7 separate regions of the Homo sapiens genome follow, and regions 1, 2, 3, 4, 6 and 7 are each linked to region 5. The links are contacts of gene promoters, found by promoter capture Hi-C in blood cells and fetal thymus (Javierre and others, 2016). All regions are on one chromosome and are shown on one strand. Each heading gives the region's core, a stretch centred on a gene start or on the middle of the fragment in contact. The rest is flanking DNA. Distances are from core to core; before and after follow the strand shown. Region 1 overlaps POGZ (pogo transposable element derived with ZNF domain). Region 2 has its middle 6.1 kb from the start of SELENBP1. Region 3 overlaps POGZ (pogo transposable element derived with ZNF domain). Region 4 overlaps POGZ (pogo transposable element derived with ZNF domain). Region 5 holds the start of THEM5 (thioesterase superfamily member 5). Region 6 has its middle 13 kb from the start of POGZ. Region 7 has its middle 3.8 kb from the start of RFX5.

The links. The method cuts DNA at HindIII sites, captures the fragments that hold promoters and counts their contacts. A CHiCAGO score of 5 or more calls a contact.
Region 1: a fragment that was not itself captured here is called in contact with the fragment with the promoter of THEM5 in region 5 in 5 of 17 cell types (M2 macrophages, erythroblasts, M1 macrophages and 2 more); the score reaches 7.7 in M2 macrophages.
Region 2: a fragment that was not itself captured here is called in contact with the fragment with the promoter of THEM5 in region 5 in 2 of 17 cell types (endothelial precursors and M2 macrophages); the score reaches 5.7 in endothelial precursors.
Region 3: a contact is called between a fragment that was not itself captured here and the fragment with the promoter of THEM5 in region 5, in 14 of 17 cell types (M2 macrophages, M0 macrophages, M1 macrophages and 11 more). The highest score is 16.3, in M2 macrophages.
Region 4: a contact is called between a fragment that was not itself captured here and the fragment with the promoter of THEM5 in region 5, in 14 of 17 cell types (M2 macrophages, M0 macrophages, M1 macrophages and 11 more). The highest score is 10.8, in M2 macrophages.
Region 6: a fragment that was not itself captured here is called in contact with the fragment with the promoter of THEM5 in region 5 in 4 of 17 cell types (M0 macrophages, M2 macrophages, activated CD4 T cells and 1 more); the score reaches 6.2 in M0 macrophages.
Region 7: a fragment that was not itself captured here is called in contact with the fragment with the promoter of THEM5 in region 5 in 2 of 17 cell types (M1 macrophages and M0 macrophages); the score reaches 5.4 in M1 macrophages.

What each region holds. Positions count from the first base shown.
Region 1 is chr1:151,405,278-151,407,977 of GRCh38, reverse strand. It overlaps POGZ (pogo transposable element derived with ZNF domain), which reads left to right. Exons shown (of 19, transcript NM_015100.4): 16 at 687-743; 17 at 955-1,067; 18 at 1,347-1,371; 19 at 1,514-2,700. Among named protein-coding and RNA genes, the nearest start is that of PSMB4, 7.1 kb to the right of the region's middle. The HindIII fragment of the contact is 981 bases long and covers 896-1,876 here.
Region 2 is chr1:151,377,437-151,380,136 of GRCh38, reverse strand. No RefSeq gene overlaps it. Among named protein-coding and RNA genes, the nearest start is that of SELENBP1, 6.1 kb to the right of the region's middle. The HindIII fragment of the contact is 2,127 bases long and covers 221-2,347 here.
Region 3 is chr1:151,453,403-151,456,239 of GRCh38, reverse strand. All of the region lies in intron 1 of POGZ (pogo transposable element derived with ZNF domain), which reads left to right. Among named protein-coding and RNA genes, the nearest start is that of POGZ, 4.7 kb to the left of the region's middle. The HindIII fragment of the contact is 951 bases long and covers 892-1,842 here.
Region 4 is chr1:151,421,992-151,424,805 of GRCh38, reverse strand. POGZ (pogo transposable element derived with ZNF domain) reads left to right here. Exons shown (of 19, transcript NM_015100.4): 9 at 520-857; 10 at 1,255-1,409. Among named protein-coding and RNA genes, the nearest start is that of PSMB4, 24 kb to the right of the region's middle. The HindIII fragment of the contact is 2,697 bases long and covers 1-2,647 here.
Region 5 is chr1:151,852,360-151,855,059 of GRCh38, reverse strand. THEM5 (thioesterase superfamily member 5) reads left to right here and starts at 1,348. Exons shown (of 6, transcript NM_182578.4): 1 at 1,348-1,617; 2 at 2,601-2,700. The coding sequence starts at 1,495. The HindIII fragment of the contact is 9,012 bases long and covers 1-2,700 here.
Region 6 is chr1:151,471,325-151,474,024 of GRCh38, reverse strand. No RefSeq gene overlaps it. Among named protein-coding and RNA genes, the nearest start is that of POGZ, 13 kb to the right of the region's middle. The HindIII fragment of the contact is 4,139 bases long and covers 1-2,700 here.
Region 7 is chr1:151,349,728-151,352,475 of GRCh38, reverse strand. No RefSeq gene overlaps it. Among named protein-coding and RNA genes, the nearest start is that of RFX5, 3.8 kb to the right of the region's middle. RefSeq lists a silencer at 1,076-1,276. The HindIII fragment of the contact is 1,999 bases long and covers 261-2,259 here.

The DNA.
Region 1 (2,700 bases), core at 137-2,636, 450 kb after region 5:
TGCAATAGCATGATCTTGGCTCACTGCAACCTCTGCCTCCTGGGTTCAAGTGATTCTCCTGTCTCAGCCTCCCAAGTAGCTGGGATTATAGGTGTGCACCACCATGCCTGGCTGATTTTTTTGTATTTTTAGTAGAGACGGGGTTTCACCTTGTTGGCCAGGCTGGTCTCAAACTCCTGAGCTCAGGTGATCCACCTGCCTCGGCCTCCCTAAAGTGCTGGGATTACAGACATGAGCCACTGCGCCCGGCCCCAGCCAGATTCTTGAGCACTCATTTCATTTTCTCCCCTGCTTCTAATATGTTTCCTCCTTCAACTCTTAGAGCTATTTGTTCTTCTCTCCTAGCAGAGTGAGAGGCTCTGTTTTTTCGGTTTTGATGGTCTGTGCTCTAATTTCATAGGGCCTTGCTATTCAAGTACCAGTAGTATTAGGTGGGAGCTTGTTAGAAATGCTGACTCTCAGCCCCGCCCTAGGCCTACTGAACCAGAATGTGAATTTTAATAGATCCTCAGTGACTTGTATGCATATTAAAGTTTAAGAAGCATGGTGACAGGAAAACTGGCTTAGGTTGAGATTAGGGTGCACTGAAGAAGTGTCTCTTTTGTTGGGGGCATTGTCACTGGCTGGTGATCTCTAGCTTAGCCAGCAGAACTCCGTAACTCATACCACTTCTTTGTCTTTCTCAGCAATCATGTTCCACGGAAGAGCCCCAAGTATTTGGCTTTGTTTAAAAATTCTGTGAGGTAAGAAAAAACTTATTGGCAGCATCTTAATTTTTCAGGTTTTTACATTAATTTTCAGGTTTTTCATTATTTGGAGAGGTGGTTATGTGAATTAATTTCAGAAAAAGGAGAAAGTGGGAGGGCATTCCTTTTCTTTCTTAAGCCTCAAAGCTTAATGGTCTCAAGTGTCACTGCTGTGTTTGTCTTACATAGTCTCAATTCTCTTTTTTAGTGGAATCAAGCTGGCCTGCACTTCATGTACCTTTGTTACCTCTGTGGGCGATGCTATGGCCAAGCATTTGGTATTCAACCCCTCTCACAGATCCAGCAGCATCCTGCCACGGGGTAAGTAGGAGAGAAGGGGATTAGTTGAGCAAGGGGAGGAAAAAAGATACAGGTTCGTACTGTATGCATCAGGAGCATACCTACTTGGCCTCACTCATTCACTGTTGAGATGTGCTGGACCTAATTAGAAACCTTCCGACCTGAAGTTTATATAAAACTGGGAAAGCTGGTCACTGCGAACAGCGTATTTGTATGTAGTAAGTTGAATCCCAGGGCACTGTCTTTGGAGGGCTTATTTTTTCACTGAGCTAACTATTTTTGTTGTTTCATTTTCCATAGGACTCACTTGGATAGCTCACTCAAGGTAACAAAAACTCACCTCACAATTTAATTTCTGGTTTGCAGTGTGTTTACTCTGTTATTATTATTATTATTATCATATTATTGTTTCAATTTCCTAGTTGAACTGAGATTTCTCCTCTTCTCTTTGCTCCTCACCCCTTTAGGCATGGCCAGACTCGTGACCGAGTGCATGACCGGAACGTGAAGAATATGTACCCTCCTCCTTCCTTCCCCACTAACAAAGCTGCCACTGTGAAATCTGCGGGGGCCACCCCAGCTGAGCCTGAAGAGCTACTAACTCCCTTAGCCCCAGCACTCCCATCACCAGCCTCAACTGCAACCCCACCACCAACCCCCACTCACCCGCAGGCTTTAGCCCTTCCACCGCTGGCTACAGAGGGAGCCGAATGTCTGAATGTTGATGATCAGGATGAAGGGAGCCCAGTCACCCAAGAACCTGAGCTAGCATCAGGTGGTGGTGGTAGTGGTGGAGTTGGCAAAAAGGAGCAGCTGTCTGTGAAGAAGCTTCGAGTAGTACTGTTTGCTCTATGCTGCAATACAGAACAGGCAGCTGAACACTTCCGAAATCCCCAGCGACGTATTCGCCGTTGGCTTCGACGTTTCCAGGCCTCCCAGGGGGAGAATCTAGAGGGCAAATATCTGAGCTTTGAGGCAGAAGAGAAACTGGCTGAGTGGGTGCTAACCCAGCGCGAACAACAGCTACCTGTAAATGAGGAGACCTTGTTCCAGAAGGCCACCAAAATAGGACGTTCTTTGGAAGGGGGGTTTAAGATCTCCTATGAGTGGGCTGTGCGTTTCATGCTGCGGCACCACCTGACTCCCCATGCCCGGCGAGCTGTGGCCCACACCCTACCTAAGGATGTAGCAGAGAATGCAGGACTCTTCATTGATTTTGTACAACGGCAGATTCACAACCAGGACTTACCCTTGTCTATGATTGTGGCTATTGATGAGATCTCTTTGTTCCTGGATACAGAGGTGCTGAGCAGTGATGATCGAAAGGAGAATGCCCTGCAGACAGTGGGCACAGGGGAACCTTGGTGTGATGTAGTCCTAGCCATTCTGGCAGATGGCACTGTCCTTCCCACCCTGGTTTTCTACAGAGGGCAGATGGATCAGCCTGCTAACATGCCAGACTCCATATTGCTAGAGGCAAAGGAGAGTGGCTACAGTGATGACGAGATCATGGAGCTGTGGTCAACTCGAGTGTGGCAGAAGCACACAGCTTGCCAGCGCAGCAAAGGCATGCTTGTGATGGACTGTCATCGCACTCACTTGTCAGAAGAGGTACTGGCTATGCTTAGTGCCTCTAGCACTTTGCCTGCAGTGG
Region 2 (2,700 bases), core at 35-2,534, 470 kb after region 5:
CACCAATACAAGATTTTAACCTTTAAATTTTTTGCCCATCTTATAGGCAAAAATGTTACTGTATTCTTTCACTGTTTCAATTGTTTACACATGTATTTCAAACTTAATATAAAATTTTAAAAATATGATTGATACATAATGTGAAAAATAAAAATTGCTCCCTGTAATCCAATTCTTGAGGTAACCACTGTTAGCTACATTTGGCATGATAAGGGAAGCTTTATCTCTACAAATCCTTTTCTTTAGGTTTTTTTTTTTTTTTTTAAGCGGAGTCTTGCTCTGTCGCCCAGGGTGGAGTGCAGTGGCACGATCTCAGCTCACTGCAACCTCCACCTCCCGGGTTCATGCCATTCTCCTGCCTCAGATTCCCAAGTAGCTGGGACTACAGGCGCCTGCCACCATGCCCGGCTAATTTTTTTTTTTTTTTTTTTTTTTGTATTTTTAGTAGAGATGGGGTTTCGCTGTGTTAGCCAGGATGGTCTCGATCTCCTGACCTCGTGATCCGCCCGCCTCGGCCTCCCCAAGTCCTGGAATTACAGGAGTGAGCCACCACGCCCGGCCTACTTTTTTTTTTTTTTGAGACAGCGTCTCACTCTGCCACCCAGACCAGAGTGCAGTGGTGCAATCACAGCTCACTGCAGCCTCGACCTCCAGGGCTTAAACAATCTTCCCACCTCAGCACACCTTCCCCACCCCCGAAGTAGCTAGGACTACAGGAGCCTGCCAGGCCTAAATTGTTTTAATTTTTTGTAGAGACGGTGTCTCATTATGTTGCCCAGGCTGGTCACAAACCCCTGGGCTCAAGCAATCTGCCTGCCTCAGCCTCCCAAAATACTGACATCAATCATAAGCCAAATCCTTTTCTATGAACGTATAGATGGATGAATAAATAAATAAATATAAATTTAACTAGTTAAAACTATATAGCTTAATTTTTATGTAGTTTTAATTAAAATGAGGCTGGGCACAGTGGCTCACACCTGTAATCCCAGTACTTTGAGAGGCTGAGGCAGGCAGATCAAGACCAGCCTGGCCAACATGGCGAAACCCCATCTCTACTAAAAATACAAAAAAATTAGCCTGGCTTGGTGGTACATGCCTGTAATCTCAGCTACTTGGGAGGCTGAGGCAGAAGAATTGTTTGAACCCGGGAGGCGGAGGTTGTAGTGAGCCAGGATGGCACCACTGCACTCCAGCCTGGGTGACAGAGCGAGACTCTTGTCTCAAAAAATAAAAAATAAAATGAAATGAGATTATACTTTCTGGTTTCCCCCACCCCTCCACCGTATTTATTGATATCCTTCTGTGTTGGTATATAGAAAACTACACATTAAGGTGCTTGGTGTTTCATACTATGGATGTTCCATAATATATTTCACCATTCTGCTATTGGTTGTTTCCAACCTTTCACTATTAAGAACATTGTTGCAATGAACATCCTATATTTATATATTTATATACTTATTGATTTCCATAAGGTAGATCACTAGAAGTGGATTTCCATTTAAAATGTTGCTAGATGTTGCTAAATTTCCTTCTAAAAATGTTCCACCATTTTATAGTCTTGCCAGTAGAATACAGGAGTGGTCCTTTTCCCCACACTCCTTCTGATCCTGAATATTATCAATCTTTTTATTTTTGAAAATCATATCTTTTTGTTGCTTTAACCAGCATTTCTCTAATGGCTAATGAGACCAGGTATGTTTTCTTATGGTTATTAGCCATTTATATTGTATTTTCATATCCTTGGAATGTTTTTCTTTGTGTAATTTATCTTTTTCCAATTGATTTGTTAAAGATTACTGTATATTGGGAACAGCTATTATTTTCAGTTTAAGCCTTTTTAAACTTTGGTTTCTGAGCACCTTTTGAAAAGGTGAGAAAGGAAATCTGGGGCTCCCATATCCCACATAGCACTTTTAGCATTCCTGCACATGGACGTGACCCTGAGGAGATTGTAAAGGAAACCAGCCGGGTGGATATGATGCAAAAGAGACAGCAGATCCAGGATGGGCAGTGAAGCCCCTGCCCGGGCCTCCTCCCAATTCCATGTAGACCTGAGGCCATGTCTCCCAAAGTCTCTGGCCTCCTGTCCTTCTGGGACACTGGGAGAAGGATCCCCTAACTTCTTCTCAGGCAGCATTCAGGTGCTGAGGTGAGAAAGTGGAGGCCTGGGCTCCGCAAAGAAGGGGATTTGTTTCTGCCCGTCCTGAGCCTTAGTAGAGAAACTGTGACTCAGGGATATGACCCCAGGGACCAAAGATTCTTCCTGCCCCCAAATGGAAGGGCTTTTATTTTCCTTTGGAAATTTTATTTCAAGTATTGTAACATGTTCAAAATAGAAGCTTTATTAGGGGTTTGATGGCTTAATTTGGGCCATTAACCAAGACTGATGTAATTCTTTCTTCTCAGGACTCTTAAATGAATGGGTGCTAGCCAAGTGGGCCTCGTAAAGGTGGAGATTATTGCATGAAAGCCATTTTATGGCTCTTGTCTCAGTTCTTCTGGAGCCAGGCTTGGCACAGGAGAAAGGCTGGAGAGAGGGTGTTGGTGATGGCAAGCGTCACCTGTGTCCTTGTAACCAAAGTTGCTGCTACCTCTTCCAGTCTGCATAATTGGTTTTCAAACCCACCTCATCTTTTCTTCTTGTGCATTAAATGTGTAACAAGATACATAATTTCTGTTCTAGTCAGACCCTTC
Region 3 (2,837 bases), core at 118-2,617, 400 kb after region 5:
ATATGTTATTTGGAAGATGGGCATAACTCAGTAAATCTAGGCTTTGCAAATGACCAATGCATGATGTTGCAAAATCAAGCAAAGGCAAAAGATCCTTTGAAAATTCCAGACATAGCAATGGATTTTAACAGTAAAAAAGTGGATTGATGTGGTTTCAGATTCCAAAATGTTAACTGTCCTTTAAGAAACTACTATTTGGCCTAGCGTGGTGGCTCACTCCTGTAATCCCAGCACTTTGGGAGGCCAAGGTGGAAGGATTGTGTGAGCCCAGGAGTTGGAGTTGAGCCTGGTCAGCATAGTGAGACCCTGTCTCTATTTATTAAAAAAAAAAAAAAAAAAAAAAAAGAAAGAAACTACCGTTTGTTGAGTTTTAGTATTTACCAAACACAGTTATCTGAAAAGGTTATTAAAATACTTCTCCCTTTTCCGACTAGATTTTCATTATATACTTAACCAAAGCTACATATAGCAACAGACTGAATGCAGAAGTAACTGTGAGAATCCAACCATCTTTTATCAAGTTAGACATAAAAGAGATTTGCAAAATGCAAAACAACGTTACTTTTCTCACTTTTTGGAGGGAAAGTATTTTTTGTTGAAATGTTATTTATGTTAACTTATAATGGGCTTGTCTTAAAATACATTGATAAATACTACATTTTAAAAATTTGTGGTAAATGTGGAAAGATAAAATTCACATAAACAAAAGATCTTTGGCGTCTTCAATAATTTTAAGAGTCAAAAAAATGAGAATCATTCAGTCAGTCCTATGTTTCTGCTCTTTACATCATTCAAATCTAACTCCCTTGGGGAACTTGGGAGAATTTATAAATAGTTGAAGTTGATGGAAGAGGCAGTGACCTGGGGAAGAATTCTAAAGCAAAAAAAGCTTGCTTTGAATCCTAACTGGGATATTTACTAACTGTAACCTTGAGGAAGTTACTTCGTCTCTCTAAACCACTGTTTTGACCTTATCTGTAAAATAAAAACTTTAGAGCTGGTTGATTACAAATCCTAGAGCTGGTTAATGCCTTTGCCATAATATCAATATGGTAACATTTTGATAGATTCTTTGGTATTCTTGTTTGTGATATTAAGCCATATTCACAAAAACTTGTCTTTTTTTTTTTTTTGAGATGGAGTCTCGCTCTATTGCCCAGGCTGGAGCGTAATGGCGCAATCTCGGCTCACTGCACCCTCCGCCTCCTGGGTTCAAGCGATTCTCCTCCTTCAGCTTCCTCAGTAGCTGGGATTACAGGCACGCGCCACCACACCTGGGTAATTTTTGTATTTTTCTAGAGATGGGGTTTCACCATATTGATCAGGCTGGTCTCAAACTCCTGACCTCTTGATCGACCCGCCTTGGCCTCCCAAAGTGCTGGGATTACAGGCGTGAGCCACCACGCCCAACTGAAAAACGTATTTTTATATGTAACCAAGGGGAGGAGAGCAGAAAAGAGACACTAACCTATTGCTAGGTGTTAGCAGAGTTAAAAGAAATTGAAAGCATAGAAATGGAATTTAGGCAACACACAGCTGTCATTGAAGAAAAGTTTTCCATCATAGTATAGATATTTTTCTTGGGAAAGGGACTCCTGAATATTGAACCCCTTTAAAGAAGAGAACTTGTTGCTTACTTGTTTTAGTAAAGAGCACAGAACTAAATATTTGGGTGTTTCTTGATACAGGATTGGCTACCAGACAAGAGGAAAGTATTTTGAGTTTGGAAATTTTAGGTTATTAAGACTACTTAAAACCCTTATGATTCTTACATATGAGGTACTATAACAGATGTTGTGAGGGACAAAATGGGCTGTGCAAAAGACTGGATAAATAAAAGCTTATTACATGTTTAACTATAGTTTTATACACAGATTAAGTATTCAGCCCTATAGGTTTTCTGGTATTAGTCCTTTTTAGAGCCAAAAATTGAGGTAACTTGAAAACATAATTACCAGTTATGTTGAGGATTATCATTGTTTATTTTTCACCCTGGAACAAGAAAGTGGTATTCTTAAAATGTTTGTTTTCTGTAAAATATTTTTCCTGTTCCAAATGTTCTTTTTATGTTGATTTTTGGGCAGGTATGTACTGGCAGTAAGTTGAAAACGTTAGATACCAAATTCTTCATTTCTGAATTCTTCATTCTTCATTTCTGGACTTTACAGCTATGAAAGAACAAGACAAAGGAATTCAGAGCTTTCAAGAACCAAGTATGTCAGGATAGTTGTGGAAAACAGATCTTTTTCTCATTTTCTTTGAGATGAAGATAGGCAACATTTGCTGCCCATTAAATACCTTAAAAGTATACAGGTGTATCTGCAGGATTCTTTTTGCTGCTTTTAAATAGTATATTGTTTTAAAAGGTCTGTTTTTATCTTGCCTTTACAATTATATAGACTTTTATTGACTAGCTGATCATATAGGGCCTTAGTATAGACTACCATATTCGCCAGCATTTAAGAAATAGTCCCCTTCCCTCCAGGAGAGTATTTATCTGGTACTCCCATATTATGGATTGAAGGATGAGACAAGAGACTGAGTATTGCTAATAGTTCTGTGTGAGCCTGCAGTGTTAAGTAAAACCTATTGAGTGCACAAAAAAATCATGTTACAATTACTACAAAATAGAGAAACCACCTAGGTTACCAAGATGTCAAATAATGGATTAATGGAAGAAAGTAATGTACCTCCTTGGTAGCCTACATAATCCACCTTAATTTGTTATTTCTTATTTAACTATTTTGCTATGTCTTAAGAAATGTATATTAAGTGAAAATGGATGCATAAAAATAAAAAAAGAGAAATGTATATATACAAGCTACATGAAAATTGGT
Region 4 (2,814 bases), core at 50-2,549, 430 kb after region 5:
TTTGGAATGTGATGGGATACATTTAAAGACCCTCAAATAGATCAGAACATATGTGATCTTACTTTCTTAGTGTGGTAGATTTTGAAACCACACAGGAGAACAGGTTTATAGATAATAAGGACTCAAACCATATTGGCCTCAGTTCATTTTTGTTAATTGTGTCATTGGATGAATCGGGAGCTCTTACTTCCATTTTTTAGCTTTTCATTTTTTGGTATTAGTCCAGATAAAAAGGTTGGAACTTCTTCTTTGCCAGGGAGCTCAGAGCCAAGTTATACTAATGATTAAGGGACCTAAGACAGGCAGGAGGGAGAAATACAAAGTATAGCGCTTGGGTGGCATATGTGGATATACTCTAGAAAAGGAGTAAAACTTGGAAACGCTAAAAAAAACTGAAGGGTGAAAGCTGAATGAGAATACCTGAAACCAAACCGTTAACAAGGAATGGTAGTGAAGTTAAGGAGTTAGCACATTCTAGCCCCCAGGATAACCAGAATGATCAGATGTCTTTCTTTATAGTACTGTTGCCCAGAAATGGTTGAATACCAGAAGAAAGGAAAGTCCCTGGATTCAGAACCCAGTGTCCCATCAGCAGCAAAGCCCCCATCCCCTGAGAAAACAGCTCCTGTTGCTTCCACACCCTCTTCTACACCTATTCCTGCTCTGTCACCGCCTACCAAAGTACCAGAACCAAATGAGAACGTGGGCGATGCCGTCCAGACCAAACTCATTATGCTTGTAGATGACTTCTACTATGGACGGGATGGTGGCAAAGTAGCCCAGCTCACAAATTTCCCTAAGGTCGCCACATCTTTCCGATGCCCACATTGTACCAAAAGGCTAAAAAACAATATTCGGTAAGTGTTTAAGAGCCTTGGAAGTTACCTTGAACAAGAGAAGACTTACATTTTCTTATATATTTTAAGTCTTTCTCTTTGGAGAATGGACCTAACTACTATGCAGTCTTGCTGGGGTTATCATTAAATCAATAACTAGGACTATAGAAGGAGATATTGTGGTAATAAACAAAAGGTAACTGGATCGAGTAAGGGAAAGCAGTATGTCTCCTTTCCCAGAACTCTCTTAGTTTCAAGAACTCATTATCTTTCTGGGCTCAGAAAAGGATATCCCAAACAGGAAGTCTGGGGAATGGAGGGGAGCAGATAATGTTTGTTCTGTGATTTTACCATTATATTTCTAAAAGGCTACCAATTTTTTATGTTTTCTGTACTTTCTCTTTGTGCTTTATTACAGATTCATGAACCATATGAAACACCACGTAGAACTCGATCAGCAGAACGGTGAGGTAGATGGTCACACTATCTGCCAGCACTGTTACCGCCAGTTTTCCACTCCCTTCCAGCTTCAGTGCCACTTGGAAAATGTTCATAGTCCCTATGAATCTACTAGTAAGTTTGGAAACTCTTAAACTCAAGGGGAATATACCTTGCTGTTCACTCATTGAATGGCGCTGGGGGGAGCCCATTATATTTATTTACATGTGGGTAACAGTGTAGAGGAAGTACTTTTCATATTTGTAGCCAGTTCTTTACTTCATTCACCTTGTTTTTTTTTACAAGCCTGACTTTTATTTTGTTCAAGCATGGATTGAGTTCAGTGTTAGATCCTGAATTGTTAGGGGCGTTGATTCAGAACCACTGTAGAAAAACAAATGTAATTAATTTATTTCTTAGGTCTCTTTATAGAAGGAACAGTCATCTATTTGCTCTTCCACTTTAGTTAAACCCTGATAGGTTTTATGTAGGCTAAAAGATAATATTGTGAAGTACTTTATCATTAAGACATTGCTTTCAATGAAATATAAGATGAGCTGGAGTGTTTTCTACACTGTATATTTTATACATGTAGGCTGGACATAAGCTCAAAGAAATTAAGTAGGATAAAAGATAATATGGCCGGGCACGGTGGCTCACGCCTGTAATCCCAACACTTTGGGAGGCCGAAGCAGGCAGATCACCTGAAGTCAGGAATTCGAGACCAGCCCGGCCAACATGGCGAAGCCCCATCTCTACTAAAAATGCAAAAATTAGCTGGGTGTGGTGGCGGGCACCTGTAATCCCAGCTACTCGGGAGGCTGAGACAGGAGAATCGCTTGAACCCGGGAGGCGGAGGTTGCAGTGAGCTGAGATCATGCCATTGCACTCCAGTCTGGGCAACAAGAGCAAAACTCCATCTCCAAAAAAAAAAAGATAATATTATGAAGTACTTTATCATTAAGACAGTGCTTTCAGTGAAATATAAGGTAAGCTGGAATGTTTTTCTACACTGTACATTTTATAGATAGATGTAGGCTGAACATAAGCTCAAAGAAATTGAGTCATTTGCTTATGAGCGTACACCTCTAAATACACCTCTACTGGGGATACATAGTGAGGATTTAAGCCCAGTATTGAGAATACTTCTCATGTCCTTTACGGGATTTCCAGTTTTGTTGTAAAGACAAAAATTATGTAAATATAGGAAAATGTGAGAACAAGATAGTATATTATAAACATAGACATTTTAAGATATCATTGATAGGTGAAATACTTCAGAGAAGGGAAAAAATCCTTGTGGCTAGGTTTCCAAGAAAGTCGTGCTTAAATTTAAGAAAGGTTTAGATGGATGGAGAGTAGTAAGAAAAGCTTTTAGGTGATTGAAAACAGCATGATCAAAAGCATAGAAGACATATGCATATTATCTGGATGCATTTGCTACAAGTAAAAATCCTTAACTAAAAATGAATTAAACAATAAGGACTGGGTGTGGTGGCTCACACCTGTAATCCCAGCACTTTGGGAGGCTTAGGTGGGT
Region 5 (2,700 bases), core at 99-2,598:
AACATGCTTTTATTTTAGTCAATTTAAAACTGAGACTTTTAATTGAAAATTGGCAGTTTAAATTCAATAGAAGACACACCACCACCAAATCCCACTGCCTTGCAGATGTTGGCTGAGTGTCCCTTCCCACTCAACAAAGCCTCACTGCCGCGCCCACCTCACTCCCAGCACTGCCTGCTGACATGAGCCACTCCCTGGGCACGGGGTTCCCAAAACATGAGAGTATCCCTGCCAAGCTGTTTCCTCCCAAATTATTTTCTGCCCTCCCTGTCAAGCCCTCCCCCACCTCCAACTCCTATCCCCAGCCAGAGACCAGCAGGTGAAACTCTCCTGTGCTAACCCTTGTCCGGGATATAAGAAGAGGTGTTGGCCGGGTGCGGTGGCTCACGCCTGTAATCCCAGCACTTTGGGAGGTCACCTGAGGTCAGGAGTTCAAGACCAGCCTGGCTAACATGGCAAAACCCCATCTCTACTAAAAAAAATATACAAAATTTAGCTGGGTGTGGTGGTGTGTGTCTGTAATCCCAGCTACTCAGGAGGCTGAGGCAGGAGAATCACTTGAACCCAGGAGGCGGAGGTTGCAGTGAGCCGAGATCACGCCATTGCACACCAGCCTGGGCGACAAGATTGAAACTCCGTCTCACCAAAAAAAAAAAAAAAAAAAAAAAAGAGGTGTCTAAGGCTGTGAGTTGGTTTTCTTTTTTTTTATTTTTTTATTTTTATTTTTTTGAGACGGAGTCTCGCTCAGTCGCCCAGGCTGGAGTGCGGTGGCTAGATCTCAGCTCACTGCAAGCTCCACCTCCCAGGTTCACGCCATTCTCCTGCCTCAGCCCCCTGCGTAGCTGGGACTACCGGCACCCGCCACCACGCCCGGCTAATTTTTTGTATTTTTTTTAGTAGAGACGGGGTTTCACCGTGTTAGCCAGGATGGTCTCGATCTCCTAACCTCGTAATCCGCCGCCTCGGCCTCCCAAAGTGCTGGGATTACAGGCGTGAGCCACCGCACCCGGCCTGTGAGTTGGTTTTCTGAGTCACAAAATCATACCAGAGTTTTCAGAGTCCGGTATACACTGCAGAGCACATACCAAGAACACTCCACCAGCACCCTCCAATCAAGGGACAGGCTTCCCTTATCCTTCTGGAAATATTCTTGGATTCTCCCTCAGAACCCCCAGGCAGCTCTCCAAGGCTCTATATACCCCATACTATTTGTTTATGTACTTGTTTACTCCTTTTGCAACTCAAGCCAGTCCTGCTGCCTTTTCATGCCCAAGCAGCATCTGTCCCTCCCCAAGCACTGGGTGGGGCTCCTAGACCAGCTAAAGGCGCCGAGCATCTGTGGGTGTTGCAGCACACCAGCCCAGCCTCGCCTAGCTCTCTGAAAGAAAGCCTGCAACAGAAGGGAGAGAAGCGGCCCCAAGTGCAGCTGAAAGCACTCCTTGGGAGTCAGCCAAGACCCTCCATCCAAGCAGGGCTGGATCCTTGCACTTGGCCATGATAAGGAGATGCTTCCAGGTGGCAGCAAGACTTGGCCACCACAGAGGCCTTCTTGAGGCCCCCCGTATCCTGCCCAGACTCAACCCTGCCTCAGCATTTGGATCCTCCACAGACTCCATGGTGAGTTCCCAGCTCAGCCAGATGGGCAGTGTTTTCCCAGGAGCCTAGGGCTTAAGGAGCACCCCAAATCTCCTCTTCCCAGCCCATGGCCAGGGCAGGTGGGCAGTGTTCGGAGGAGCTATTTGATTTGGCAAAGAGAAAGTGCTCTGGGATACCAAGTTGCCCCCATTCAAAACTAAAACTACCAGGAGACCTGCATCTGGCTCTGTGTCTTGTGTGGCCACCAACAAATGACTTTCCTCCTGTGGGACTCAGACTACTGCAGCAAAGCTGGGGTATCCCCAGACAGAGGACCCCATCTGTGGCATTGGCAAGCAGCTCACATGCTGTCTACAGTTGTGACTGGTGTATGAGCAGGTGACGCTACAGAGGACTTCCTTACGTCACACAGATGGGCACATAGTCTGTGCCCCAGCCATGGCACCACACCTCTGTGGGGGCCCAAATGTGTTTCAAAGGAGCCACCCTGCCCAGGCAGGCCCACAGCAGTGGGCAGAGCTGGAGTAGCCCCTGAGGTGGGGGTTGCTAGAATGGTCCTCAACAACTGTGACCCTGCCCTGCAGAGGAGACAGCATCTAGTGCGACCACCAGCTCTCACAGTCACATGCTTGGCAACCTTGGCCGTATTCCCTCAGTTTCCCCATCTGTACAGTGAGGCTAATATGAGCAGTTGTCAACTTTAAAGAACTGCTCACATGTTTTAAGCAGAACAAGGGTAAGGCACCACATCGAGCAGCATGCCCATCATCTCTGGCCCCACTCCCTGCCCGCCCTTCCCTTGCTCTTTAGCATCCTTATGCCCCGTCACCCATAGGGGTCCGCAGCCCCCCTGCAAGGAATATGGGCCCTTTCCCTTGGATCGATACTCTGGCAGAAGGGATTGAGAAGCCCCAGCACCCAGGAACAGCTGTTTAGAGGTCCCGAGCCCAGGCAGCAGCCCCCCTCCAGGATGCTGTCTAGTCATTCTGATTTTTCCTGCCCAGTTCTCAAGATTCTTGCCAGAGAAGACAGACTTGAAGGATTATGCTCTTCCCAATGCCAGCTGGTGTTCGGACATGCTGAGCCTGTACCAAGAATTTCTGG
Region 6 (2,700 bases), core at 154-2,653, 380 kb after region 5:
ACGTCATCACCTACAGAAATGTTCATCATGCACCACGGTGATGTTTTGGGGAGTAGGCCTCCATTTGGCAAAATTACTAGCACACCAAAATCTTATTCTGGTGTCAAGTGAGACCAGCAGCCAGAGCCTAGGAGCCTGATGTTGGGCCCTGTTAAAATGTTATTTACATCTAAATTAATTTGAGAGAGAAAAAGAAAGTAGGAAAAACTATATTTTAAATATCACATTTTTTTTTCCTCCACTTCATTTTCTGCACTCCTACTATGGCTCCCTTAACTCAGTCTGAGGCCAAGAGATTATGATGACAAAAGAGAAATGATCAATAAGAAAAGGCGGCTCCTGAAAACCCAAGCCCACTCGAGGGTTCAGACCTCGAATCCCACCCTTCGGAGCCTCGCCGCTCCCTCCCGGGTTGCGGGCGCCAGCAGAGGAGCGCAGGGCGGACACTGCCCTTTTCTGGACTTCGGTGCTCTTCACCCCGCTTCCCAGTGCCTCCTGCCGCCCCGCGGCCTCCACACCCACGCGCCGCGGGCCCCCGCGCCTTCGCGGCTCCAGCTGTCCCCTCCCGGTATACCCACCCACCCGCACGTCCAACGCCCTTTTTTCCCCCCCCGAAAACTTTCTAGACGGTAGGGACTATTTTCTTCTAATGTAACCTTCCACCAAACTGGAGGGAAAAGTTACCCGAGGCCAGAGAAGGGCTGGGGACGTGGGAGGGACTCACAAGATCCCTGGTTCTAAAAACAGAGGTCTCTTTCCATGAAAGTGAGTAACTGGGCCCCCAAGCCAGAGTTTTGTTTGTTGGATTAATTGGTCAAGGTGCACGTTGAAGCTAAATATCTTAAATGGAGATTTTTAAAAAATGGATATAAAATAGACTCCACTAGACAAATGGTTCTTGTCTTCAGACCTTGCAGTTCTTTCTATTGATTCTCATGTTATCTGTCCCTCCCTACCCCGGGCTCCCACGTCATGAGGTTCACGTATAGGGAAATCCAGGTCACTTCAGTATGATGACTTCATAAACCCTAGAGGAAGAAGTCAAATCTAGAAACTGCTCTTTGAGGCAGTTTGCTGAATTCTATTCTGTATTCTGGAAAGGTAAGCTAACCTGCAGAAATAGTTAATGATTGGGATAATCCTCTAGACCTTCTTTTTCAAACTGGGTGGCAAAATCAGTTTGACAAGCAGTATTAAGAAGGAAGGAGAGGACGGAATGATGGAAGAAAGGGCTGGGCACAGTGGCCCAAGCTGTAATCCCTGCACTTTGGGAGGCCGAGGCAGGGGGAACACTTGAGGCCCCAGGTTGGAGACCAGACTGGGCAACATAGGGAGATCCCATCTCTACAAATAAAAATAAAACTAGCCGGGTGTGGTGGTGCACTTCTGTGGTCCCAGCTACTCCAGAGGCTGAGGCAGGAGGATTGCATGAGCCCAGGAGTTCAAGGCTGCAGTGAGCCATGTTTTATAAGCCACTGCACTCCAGCTTGGGCAACGGAGCAAGACACTGTCTCAAAAAAAAAAAAAAAAAAAAAAGAGGTGTAATAAAAGAGAATAGAAAGCTATCACATAGTGAATATCAGTAGTCTTTCATACAATCTGAATCATGAAAAGTACTGTGTGTTTGTGTGTAGCCAGTCAAGATGTAGAATATGCTTTTTACTGTGGGTGGCTGTCAAAAAATGTTTAAAAACCACTGTGCTAGACAGTGGAACTTTTTAAGGATGCTTAGATTGGAAAGGTTGAAAAGTCATCTAATTTATTCCTCTATACTTAGACAGTATTTCATTTTAAGAATAGTACAGACTTTAATTACCTTTCTTGCTTATCATCTCATCTCAACATTTCCTACTAATGATTTGTGAATAATTTGTCTCTTTAAAGCTATTATTTCAGTAAAGAAAGCTATAACTTTCTTTACTGAAAGAAAGTTATACAAAGGCAATTCTGCCAAGTTCCCTTTTTTTCTATGGCTCTTCTATCCTGTCCCCTGGGCAGTGGACATATTACAAATGTGCCTGAAAGATCTGTCTCCAGTGGAGTCCCAGAGAAATCTGAGTTGCTGGAATATCATGTCATCAGATACCCCCATGGATCTATTTTACTTTATTTTAAAATTTGAATTTTTATTTATCTTTTTTCCCCTTATTATTTATTTCTAAAATTTCATCCACCCATATAGGTTATATGAAAGCCTGAAGGTCTTTGTTTGTTTGTTTGTTTGTTTTGAGATGGAGTCTTGCTCTGTTGCCCAGGCTGGAGTGCAGTGGCGCAATCTCAGCTCACTGCAACCTCTGCGTCCTGGGTTCAAGCAATCCTCCTGTCTCAGACTCCTTAGTAGCTGGATTTACAGGCGCACACCACCACGCCCGGCTAATTTTTGTATTTTCAGTAGAGACGGGGTTTCACCATTTTGGTCAAGCTGTTCTCGAACTCCTGATCTCAGGTGATCCACCTGCCTTGGCCTCCCAAAGTGTTGAGATTATAGGCATGAGCCACCGCATCCAGCCAGAAAGCCCAAAGGTCTTGAATTGACTTTGTCCCTTCTCAAGTAGGGGAGCTCTCTGTCATGCTAACAAGTTTGTGACTGAAACTTTCTATCTTTACACCCATTTCTTCCCCCCATTACACACACTCCAATCTGGCCACTTTCAGTAGCTTAACGTTTGGATTAAAACGCCCAAATTGGGCCCGGTGCGG
Region 7 (2,748 bases), core at 11-2,510, 500 kb after region 5:
AAAATTAAACTGCAGGCCCCAGATAAGTGACAGCCCGCATCCTGGAATGGAAATACCTACTCTAGGAACCCAGATGAACAAATACCACTCCCTTTTTGGACATATTTCACTCTCTTTGGCACACCTTAGTCTCTTAGTTTTCATCTATTTTACATATGCTTACCTTTCTGTGATTGGCCACAGCGGGAGTCTTCATTTACATAGGGTGAATCATCACTTCAGCCCCTGATTGGTTCCAGGCCAAGGTCCTGGCCCAAGCTTTCACTTCAGCCCCTGACTTGGTTCCAGGCCAAGTTGTTGAGCCAAGCCTTCACTTCTGCCTCCAACTGGTTCTTTACACTATCATACCTCTTTCTGAGTGGTGCTTTCTGCAAGATAGCCTGCAGGCCCGATCAGCACACTCCTCCCTTTCCCAGTCCATAAGCCACCCTCCTCACCCTCCCACTCAGCCTCATAGCTGGCAATCCTCTTTCAGGCCCCCTCTTTGCTGAGAGCTTTTCTGTTGCTTAATAAATCTGACTCTGGCTGGTCAGGAGTTTGAGACCAGCCTGGCCAACATGGTGAAACCCCGTCTGTACTAAAAATACAAAAAATTAGCCAGGTTCGGTGGCTCACACCTGTAATCCCAGCACTTTGAGAGGCCAAGACGGGCAGATCATGAGGTCAAGAGATTGAGACCGTCCTGGACAACATGGTGAAACACCATCTCTACTAAAAATACAAAAATTAGCTGGGCATGGTGGCAGGCGCCTGTAATCTCAGCTACCTGGGAGGCTGAGGCAGGAGAATTGTTTGTACCCAGGAGGTGGAGGTTGCAGTGAGCCAAGATTGTGCCACTGCACTCCAGCTTGGTAACAGAGTGAAACTCCATCGCCCCCCCGCCAAAAAAAAAACAAAAAGCAAAATATTGGCTGGGTGTGGTAGCAGGCACCTACAGTTCTAGCTACTTGGGAGGCTGAGGCAAGAGAATCGCTTGAACCCGGGAGGCGGAGGTTGCAGTGAGCCAAGATCATGCCACTGCACTCCAGTTCAGGTGACAGAGTGAGACTCCCCCATCTCAAAAAAAATAATAAAATAAATAAGTAAATAAATAAATAAATCTGACTGCCTTACTCACTCTCCAGTGTCTACACACCTTATTCTTCTTGGTCGTGGGACAAGAATACAGAGTCCACCAGCAGTTGAAGTGAAAATGCTGGAACACTCCCTCCCACTCTCCAAACAGCAAGAGTGAAAAAGCTGCAACAGGCCAGGCATGGTGGCTCACGCCTATAATCCCAGCACTTTTGGAAGCCAAGGTGGGTGGATCATTTGAGGTCAGGAGCTCAAGACTAGCTTGGCCAAAATGGTGAGACCCCATTTCTACTAAAAATACAAAAATTAGCCAGGTGTGGTGGCACACGCCTGTAATCCCAGCTACTCAGGAGGCTGAGGTAGGAAAATCACTTGAACCTGGGAGGCAGAGGTTGCAGTGAGCCAAGTGCAGTGGAGCCACTGCACTACAGCCTGGATGACAGAGTGAGACTCTGTCTAAAAAGGAAAAAAAAAAAAAGCTGCAACGCAAAGAGCCTAGGTGCAGATCCTGGCTCCATAGCTTACTAAATTATGATGTAATCTTGGGCAAATTATTAACCTTTCAATGCCTGTCTCCTCACCTGTAAAATGGGGATAATCATAGTATCTATCTGAGGCCGCACGCGGTAGCTCACGCCTGTAATCCCAGCACTTTGGGAGGCTGAGGCGGGCGGATCACGAGGTCAGGAGATAGAGACCATCCTGGCTAACATGGTGAAACCCCGTTTCTATTAAAAATACAAAAAAATTAGCCCGGTGTGGTGGCAGGCGCCTGTAGTCCCAGCTACTTGTGAGGCTGAGGCAGGAGAATCACTTGAACCTGGGAGGCAGAGCTTGCAGTGAGCCGAGATTGCGCCACTGCTCTCCAGCCTGGGTGACAGAGCAAGAATCCGTCTCGAAAAAAAAAAGAACGGGCCCCAACACATATTAGGCTCTGTATAAATACTTGCTGTTATATGATGCTTATCCGGACAATTTTTATTGTTACTGCCCAAGGCAAGGACCATACCTTATTCAGCTTTGTATCCCTAGCTCTTAACACAATGCCTGGCATAAATTAATAGTTTCCTCTTTCCTATCTCTAGCCTTTTCTTTCACTCAACTCTACCTTCTATAGTGCTGTCAAAATCATCTCTTTTACTAGGTACTATGTACTATGATACTTTCTCCCCCCTTACTAAAGCTTCCAGTTTTTCCCTGTTATCTGCAAATTTTTAAGCTAGATAACTTACCCAAAACTCTGTTTGCAACCAAAGTGCTCTAGGTTCTCCTTCATACCAAACAGTGGTGTTAGGGCTATCTTTCCATCAGTCTATATCCATATTTGGCTTGCTATTTATTTATTTATTTATTTAGAGATGGAGTTTCGCTCTTGTTGCCCAGGCTGGAGTGCAATGGCATGATCTCGGCTCACCCAACCTCCGCCTCCCAGGTTCAAGCAATTCTCCTGCCTCAGCCTGCCAAGTAGCTGGGATTACAGGCATGCACCACCACGACTGGCTAATTTTGTTTTGTTTTTTGTTTTGTTTTTTGTTTTTTGTTTTTAGTAGAGACGGGGTTTCTCCATGTTGGTCAGGCTGGTCTCAAACTGACCTCAGGTGATCTGCCCACCTCAGCCTCCCAAAGTGCTGGGATTATAGGCATGAGCCACCACACCAGCCGGCTTTTTTTTTG